Regions from separate parts of the Homo sapiens genome. Here all the other regions are linked to region 2. Evidence: promoter capture Hi-C in human tissues and cell types (Jung and others, 2019). All regions are on one chromosome and are shown on one strand. Each heading gives the region's core, a stretch centred on a gene start or on the middle of the fragment in contact. The rest is flanking DNA. Distances are from core to core; before and after follow the strand shown. Region 1 overlaps CTCFL (CCCTC-binding factor like). Region 2 holds the start of PCK1 (phosphoenolpyruvate carboxykinase 1). Region 3 overlaps ZBP1 (Z-DNA binding protein 1).

What was found. The method cuts DNA at HindIII sites, captures the fragments that hold promoters and counts their contacts. A contact is called where the count stands out against the background at its distance.
Region 1: a contact is called between a fragment that was not itself captured here and the fragment with the promoter of PCK1 in region 2, in 4 of the 25 tissues and cell types used here (aorta, mesendoderm cells, neural progenitor cells and 1 more).
Region 3: a fragment that was not itself captured here is called in contact with the fragment with the promoter of PCK1 in region 2 in 1 of the 25 tissues and cell types used here (psoas muscle).

The regions. Positions count from the first base shown.
Region 1 is chr20:57,505,756-57,508,770 of GRCh38, forward strand. It overlaps CTCFL (CCCTC-binding factor like), which reads right to left. Exons shown (of 11, transcript NM_001386993.1): 9 at 2,851-3,015. Among named protein-coding and RNA genes, the nearest start is that of CTCFL, 18 kb to the right of the region's middle. The HindIII fragment of the contact is 6,086 bases long and covers 1-3,015 here.
Region 2 is chr20:57,559,764-57,562,466 of GRCh38, forward strand. It overlaps PCK1 (phosphoenolpyruvate carboxykinase 1), which reads left to right and starts at 1,347. Exons shown (of 10, transcript NM_002591.4): 1 at 1,347-1,440; 2 at 1,609-1,872; 3 at 2,308-2,489. The coding sequence starts at 1,649. The HindIII fragment of the contact is 15,943 bases long and covers 1-2,703 here.
Region 3 is chr20:57,613,014-57,615,865 of GRCh38, forward strand. ZBP1 (Z-DNA binding protein 1) reads right to left here. Exons shown (of 8, transcript NM_030776.3): 3 at 2,499-2,567; 4 at 1,874-2,047; 5 at 150-317. Among named protein-coding and RNA genes, the nearest start is that of ZBP1, 6.0 kb to the right of the region's middle. The HindIII fragment of the contact is 3,943 bases long and covers 1-2,852 here.

The DNA.
Region 1 (3,015 bases), core at 278-2,777, 54 kb before region 2:
AAGCCAAAGACTTCCCCTAGTCAAGCCTACTCGTGACATAGTCTCATCTAACAAACACTCAGGATAATCTTAAGTCAGAAAATTTTCACTTTTTGAAAAGGTCCTAGGCAAAAGTAAAAAAACTGGCAACAGGTGTTGAAATTTGCAAATTATGCGAAACATCCCGCCTGATTCCCATTTTGACTTTCCCACTGTGCTTAACAGGACTGTCTGCGTTTATGATGGAAGAAGGAAGAATTTACACATAATGGGGGTGATGGAACAGGTTGTTTAAACTTCTTCCATTTTATGCTTAGACACTGGGGTTGGCAAACGACAACCAGTGGGTCAAATCTGGCTGCCAACTGTTTGTGAAAGCAAGTTTTACTGGAACACAGCCATGTCTATTCATTTACACACTGCATCCACAGCTGCTTCCATGACACAAGGGCAGACTCAAGAAGTCGTGGCAGAAACTGATTTGCGTTGCCCTGGTGATTAATGACGCTACGCTTACTGGCCACCTGTATGTCTTCTTTGGAGAAAGGTCTATTTAGATACTTTAACTGTTTTGTTTTGTTTTTTTCCTGAGACAGTCTCGCTCTGTTGCCCAGGCTGGACTGTAGTGGCACAGTCTCAGCTCACTGCAACCTCCACCTCCTGGGTTCAAGCAATTCTCCTGCCTCAGCCTCCTGAGCAGCTAGGATTACAGGCATGTGCCACCATGCCCAGCTAATTTTTGTATTTGTAGTAGAGATGGGGTTTCATCATTTTGGCCAGGCTGGTCTTGAACTGCTGACCTTGTGATCCACCTGCCTCTGCCTCCCAAAGTGCTGGGATTACAGGTGTGAACCACCGCGCCTGGCCTAGATACTTTACCTGTTTTTCATTGGGTATCTGTCTATTTACTGAGTTATAAGAGTTCTTTTTATATTTTAGACACAAGTCCAAATATGCTTTCTTGAATCGGAATTTCAAAAATTTTATGTTCTGAGGGACTGCATGAGGCAGACTTGTTCTTTTCTCTACATTTTTATTTCTTGCACCAAAGAGCAGTTTTTTTCTCTTTAGAATTCTACTCGTTAATTTTAACTCTTCACAATTTTTGCATGAGCAATGGTGTTTTGGGAGCACTGCCACAGCTTTTATTTGAAATTTTAAACTAATAGGGTTGACATTCCAGAACTATCCCACTGTGCTACTCAGAAAAACACAACTACACTACTGTTTTAAGAAGAAATATTTTTAAAAAAATAGTCAACTTCAGGAAATTCAACTTTTATAAAACTTTTATAAAGTTAGGCTGAAGCCTACATGGTCCAAGGATCTAGCTAGCCATGTGCAGTGGTTTTTAAATGTCCTGAAATTCTTTGATGCTGTTCCTTTCAAAAGAAACTTCATTCCCCACTCGAGTGTGGGTGGGACTTCATGGTTCATTTCTTGTGACTAGAATGTGCCACTTTTTTTTTTTTTTTGAGACAGAGTCTTGCTCTGTCGCCCAGGCTGGAGGCCAGTGGCACAATCTCAGCTCACTGCAACCTCTGTCTCCTGGGTTCAAGTGATCCTCCCGTCCCAACCACCCAAGTAGCTGGGATTACAAGCGTGCACTACCACGCCTAGCTATTTTCTTTTTTTTTTTTTAAAGTAGAGACAGGGTTTCACCATGTTGGCCAGGCTGGTCTTGAGCTCCTGGCCTCAAGTTATCCACCTGCCTTGGCCTCCCGAAGTACTGGGATTACAGGTGTGAGCCCCCACAGCTGGCTGTTGTGCCGCTTTTAGGACTAGACTGCAAAAGGCACCATGGCTTCCTACTTGCACTCTCTCACTTGCTCTGAGTCAGGAGGACACTCAAGCAGCCCTGCAGAGAGGTCCCTGTAGCAAGGAACTGAGGCCGGTGCCAGCAGTTGTGTGGCGGAGCTGTCCTGGAAGTGGATCCTCTGGCCCCAGTCCAGCCTTCGGATGATGCAGCCCTGGCGGACATCCTGACTGCAGCCTCAGGAGTGGCCCTGAGCCAGGACCACCCAGTTCAGCCACTTCCGAGTTCCCAACCCAGAGAATCTGTCAGGTGATAAATGTTTGTGGTTTTAAGCCACTCCATTTTGAGGTAATCTGTCATACAGAAATAGATAACTAATACAACACCTAAAAGAATAAAACCATAAATGTATTGCTTAGTCCAGTACCAACAGCACTATTCTTTTTTTTTTAATTAAAAAAGTTATTTTAGAGACAGGGTCTCACTCTGTCTTTGAGGCCAGAGTGCAGTGGTGCGATCGTGACTCACTGTAGCCTCCAACTCCTGGGCTCAAGTGGTCCTCCTGTCTCAGCCTCCTGAGCAGCTAGGCCTACAGGGGTGCACCACCACAACCAGCTAATTTTTTTGGAGGGATGGGGGTCTCCCTGTGTTGCCCAGGCTGATCTCAAACTCCTGGCCTCAAGTAATCCTCCCACCTTGGCCTCTCAAGTAGCTGGGATTATAGACACCAATAACATTATTCTAGGGACATCTGAAAAAATGTGTGAAAACTGCATTCTCTCTGTCAAGTAGCCTAAATCTAGTTCACTGTTTGAAAATATTACACTAAAAGGTGGGGTTCTTTGGGGAGTCTGATAACTCCCTATTGTAAGATTTTGTGTGTTGGATTGTCCTTTTTTTTTTTTTTAGGGGATGAGGAGACCACACTTTCATAGGATTCTTCAAGAATTTTGTGATTTTAAAAAACTAATAACCACTTTCCTAAGGCATGACAGATGCTCCTGAAGTCCTGGCAGGTTTCTATAATCGGGTTTAAACTCTCCTGGTGTGACACTGTCCTCCTGAGATAGAGGGATCTTTCCATGGGGGATTTACTGTGACTTAAGTAAGCTTACCCAGCGGGAAAAGCCTTTGCCACACTTGGAGCATTTGTAAACAGTCGGGATGAAATTTGCATCGTGGTATTTCCTGAAGTGAGCGTTTAGAAGTTGCTTCTGTCGGAAACATTTATTGCAAGAAAGGCAGGTGAATGGTTTCTCTCCAGTGTGGGTACGAATGTG
Region 2 (2,703 bases), core at 97-2,596:
GGGTTCTCTAAGTGAGTTTGGTCGGAGGCTGCCATTCACAGTGACTTGTATTTGCCACAGCAGCTCTTTCTAAGCCCAGTCCTGGGATTATCTCAGGGATCATCCCACACCCCAGCGGGGAGATGGGCCAAGTCCCCACCTGACCTCATCTTAGGTAGAGAGGCTTCCATGGAAGTGTGGGCTGGCTGTGGGGGGTTGAGACCTAGCCCCGTTCTTTTGACATTTCACCCTGTGTTCTCCAAACTCCAGCAAGCAGCTTCCATAGCTCATTAAATTTGACTGAAGGTCTGATGGCTTGCAAAGCAAATTCTTTACAACTGTTATAAAGGTTTCATTGCTTAAGCATATAATCTAGCAAAACTGCCAAGCCCCCTCCACTCCCTAAACTCTAAGACTTGCCAGGGAAGAGAACAGTGGCCAGTGGACTGCAGGAGTAACTGCACTCAGCCCAGAACTCCCTGGAGGACACAGGGAAGGTTCTGGAAAGGTGGCGGTACCTCACAGGGAGAGACGTGGTGCTCCAGGGCCCAACTTGCTCATGTTCAGATCCTCACTCTGCAACCCACCAGCCGGCTGTGAGTGGCTACACAATCTCTGCCTCAGTTTCCCTATCTGTACATGGGTTGTTCATAGCCTCCACCTCAGAGGGTAGTAATGATGCCAAGCTCTTAGAACAGTGCTCAGCATGTGTGCATCCTGTGCCTACTCTATGCCAAGCACTACAGAGAGAAAAATGAACAAAATAGGGAGAAATCCCTGCCCTCATGGAGTTTACATCGGGGCAGGGGGCGGGGGCGGCACAGAGCAGACAATCAATACAGTGATTAGCCCCCAGTTAGGTTAGGCATTTCCAATCTTTGCCAATAAGCCACATATTTGCCCAAGTTAGGGTGCATCCTTCCCATGAACTTTGACTGTGACCTTTGACTATGGGGTGACATCTTATAGCTGTGGTGTTTTGCCAACCAGCAGCTCTTGGTACACAAAATGTGCTGCTAGCAGGTGCCCCGGCCAACCTTGTCCTTGACCCACCTGCCTGTTAAGAAAAGGGTGTTGTGTTTTGCAACAGCAGTAAAATGGGTCAAGGTTTAGTCAGTTGGAAGTTGTGTCAAAACTCACTATGGTTGGTTGAGGGCTCGAAGTCTCCCAGCATTCATTAACAACTATCTGTTCAATGATTATCTCCCTGGGGCGTGTTGCAGTGAGTTGGCCCAAAGCATAACTGACCCTGGCCGTGATCCAGAGACCTGCCCCCTGACGTCAGTGGCGAGCCTCCCTGGGTGCAGCTGAGGGGCAGGGCTATTCTTTTCCACAGTATTTAAAGCTGGGAGGTTCTGCCACCAAGCACGGCCTTCCCACTGGGAACACAAACTTGCTGGCGGGAAGAGCCCGGAAAGAAACCTGTGGATCTCCCTTCGAGATCATCCAAAGAGAAGAAAGGTAAGTAGAGCTTTGCATTTACATTTTGAAAAATTACAAAGATGAACTCATTTTTTTCCTGAGAGCAATAACTATTTGGCAATGCACAGCCCTGGCAAAAGGCCGTCGAATGTGTTTGAAGGTGTCTGTTGTTGTTTTTGTTCAGGACGCTTGCGTTTTCTATTTCAGGTGACCTCACATTCGTGCCCCTTAGCAGCACTCTGCAGAAATGCCTCCTCAGCTGCAAAACGGCCTGAACCTCTCGGCCAAAGTTGTCCAGGGAAGCCTGGACAGCCTACCCCAGGCAGTGAGGGAGTTTCTCGAGAATAACGCTGAGCTGTGTCAGCCTGATCACATCCACATCTGTGACGGCTCTGAGGAGGAGAATGGGCGGCTTCTGGGCCAGATGGAGGAAGAGGGCATCCTCAGGCGGCTGAAGAAGTATGACAACTGGTAAGCTCGGCCCCCGCTGCCTGTCCCAGCACCCTGCAGGCAGGGCTCCCCTGCGTCTCCTGGGAGTTGGTGGAGAAAGGTGAATGAAGGCCTTCGGGTAGTTTCAGACTCTTGAGAAGATGAATGCAATGGTCAGAACCATACAGACTTGAATTTTGTGACATTAGTGGGCCAGCCCAAGCTTTAAATGAGGTGTGTGCACAAAAGCTCTGCCAACTAGATTCCTGATTAAAAAAAAGGCAGCCCCTCTCCTACAGACCAGGTCCTAGTGGAGTAAATGTCCACCTGGCCATGTCTTAGATGGTCTGTGTGTTCACACTGATGGACTGTTGTTAGCGTGCTCAGCACTCTGCTAGGCATGGAAAGCCACGGTACTGAAGGAGATGGTTCGCTGCCCGTGGTGCTTGGCTGAAAGGAAGCCTGTGATTTTTGCAGCTGGTTGGCTCTCACTGACCCCAGGGATGTGGCCAGGATCGAAAGCAAGACGGTTATCGTCACCCAAGAGCAAAGAGACACAGTGCCCATCCCCAAAACAGGCCTCAGCCAGCTCGGTCGCTGGATGTCAGAGGAGGATTTTGAGAAAGCGTTCAATGCCAGGTTCCCAGGGTGCATGAAAGGTGAGCGGAACATTGATTTGATTGGGTAAAACAGCAGAGAGCCTTTTCTTATTTACATCTATCCTAATGGTAATTCAAACAATAATGGAAGCTCCCACCACCTCAGATGTCTTTCAGTTCCATACATGAAGTTGGCAATGTATTGAAAATGCACATCCCTCTTCTGCTTTTACAGACTGTCTTATACAAACGTGAAAACTAGTTCCATGCATAT
Region 3 (2,852 bases), core at 269-2,768, 53 kb after region 2:
GTAAAGGTGGACTGTGGGGGTCTGGAAGCAACCCTTTCCCCTTGGAGGGCAGAATCCCCCCACTCCCCATCCCTACCCTTTGCCCCCACCCAGAGGATCCGGTGGCTCCCCACCGAGGTCCCCTCCCTGGGCTCTCTTGGGTGACTTACCGTCCTCCCTGGAGACTGTCTGTCTTGTAATGATGTTCCCGTGTCCAATCTGGATGGCTTCGGAGTTTGCAATGGAAATCCAGCTGTTGGGTCCATTCTGGCAGATCATGTTGATTGGATTGTGCTGGTAAATAATTGAGGCTGACTTTGCTCTTCTTCCAGAATCTTCTGCAAAATAATATTCAACTGTATCCCTTTGCCACTGTCTATGGGTCAGGGGTTCCCAATACCAGTCGGCAGCACCAAATTCTCCTGGGGAGCTTGTTAAAATACCCTGGGCGTTCCGAGTCAGTAGGGCCAAGTGGGAGGCCAGAGCTGGGTGTTTAACAGACACCACAGGTACCTCAGAGGGAGCCTCACTTGAAAATAGCCACTGTGAGTCACCCTACCTGTGTCTTTTGCTGCCTCCATGGCTGGGCCGCCATGATTGCTGGCTGGGAGGACCGCAGGGGCCCCACACTGCTCTCCCTAGGGGGCAGCCACAGCCCGGACCCCCGAGCACCTGCACCATTGCCCTTTTCCCTTGAGTAATGGCCGAGAAACAGCAGCCCATTGGGCCAGATCGGTCGTGTTTGGCTCCCATGACATTTTCAATATTTGAATTTGTCACTAGTGTTTAAAATCTGGTGGCTGTCACGCGTTATTCCTTCCTCACAGCAGCCCTAGGATGCTGAGACCCCCTCGGGCACCCGTCATGAGTAGCAGAGTCAGCCCTGCAGAGGTTGAGGCAGGCACCTGCCCAGACTGTGCGGGGCCCATCACCACCCTCCAGGGTCTCAGCTCCTGTGCCTTTGTGGGCCCTTCCCCCATACACAAATATTTAAATTACATTGTATAGCAAGGATAACCCAGGCTGGATTTTTAAATTTTATTTTATTTTATTTTTTGGGGGACAGAGTTTTGCTTTTGTTGCCCAGGCTGGAGTGCAATGGCGCGATCTCAGCTCAGTGCAACCTCTGCCTCCTAGGTTCAAGCTATTCTCTTACCTCAGCCTCCCGAGTAGCTGGGATTACAGGCGCCCACCACCACACCTGGCTAATTTTTGTATTTTTAGTAGAGACGGGGTTTCGCCATGTTGGCCAGACTGGTCACTCCTGACCTCAGGTGATCTGCCCGCCTCAGCCTCCCAAAGTGCTAGGATTACAGGCGTGAGCAACCGTGCCTGGCCCATTTTTAGATATTCATTATTATTGTAGTATTCATTTCCTCTGATTTTAAATGAAATTAAAATTAAAACATTTTCAAGGACCCCTGAGAATGCCATGCACCTATTGGATCTTGGCCCTGTGTGTGTTAGGTCTCACGGGGAAGCTGACCCTGCGCTGACCCTGGGGCTCCAGCCGGTAGGGGTCCAAGACTAGTCTTGCCTTCTCTTCTGCCAACTTTTAAACCCCAACTTGAGCAAAGTGCTCAAAGAAAACCATTCCCAAACTCAGACTGATCCCTGCACCCCAGAGCTGAGAACATTGGGAATGGGCCACCTCCGTCCCATTCACTGGCCTTCTGCAACTGCAGACCTTGGGCCACGCCTCCAAAAAGCTGTCCCTGGTTAATCTTGCCAGCACACCCCTTCCTCCTGGAAGCCCTTGCAGTGAATTGTCGGTAGGACCTCCAGAAGCTTCTAGCAGTTTCCGGTGAGCTGCTCAGCAGAGCACCCAGCAAAGACCAAGCACTAGTGTCATGGTTTCCCTCTGCAGCCCAGACACAGGCAGCCGGGGGCCTACCTGGGCGGTAAATCGTCCATGCTTTGGACTGCTCATCCATGTCCAGAAGGTGCCTGCTCTTCATCCTGTACAAGTCTCGGTTCACATCTTTTGCTGTCCTCATTCCCAGTGCTTGGGCGATGACCAGGGCCCTCTGGGGACCATTGTCTTTGAGAAACCTGTAGATGTCTTCCTCTGGGAGGCAGGATGGCCAGGTGGTTAGGGAGTAGTCCTAGGGTTTGCATCTGCCCCACCGCTTCCTAGCTGTGTGGCCCTGGACCCAGCCCCTCAAGGCCTGGTTTCCTCATCTGTAAAATGGGTGTCATGATAACGGGGTCATCATGACGCACCGCAGAGGTGCCCTGAGGGTGGGGGATGTGCACAGAGTGCTCTGCGCTGGGCCTGGCATGTGGCGGGTGCATGGTGAGGGTCAGCTATTGTCTGACTGGAGAAATCACTGCTCAGCCATTCAGATTCTCCCACTGTGAGGGCTGGGTCTTGGCTCTGAACACTGTATGGGAGCTGCCTGGTGGGTGGGACAGGGCCCCTGAACACTGGTGAGATCTTGTACCCTCAAGGAGGGCCTGGGGTTCCTGGGGAGTGGGATCCTGTGTCCCGGGAACTGAAGGGACATGCAAAAACTTACCCCGTTGTTGGCTGAACTGAGGGCCAGGGGTCTCTGGAATTGTAGCTGCATGTTGCTGGGGCCTCTCGGCTGCAGAAAGAAAGATGGGTCAGAGGGGTGGGGGACAGAAGACAGCACCAGGCCTCCACCCCACAAAGGTGGGCAGCTCCCTAGGGGTAAGTGGCAATGCCGGTAGTTGCAAACTCAGACTCCAGAGTTCAACACACTTGACTTCAAATCCTGCCTGCGCCCTGGCAGCTGCGGCTTCCTGCCGATTAACTTCTCCGGGGCTCAGCCTCCTTTGCCTCCTGGGGTTGTGTGAGGGCTGGGTGAACCCCAAAACAGTGCCTGGCTAATCTTAAGTGCATGATAAAT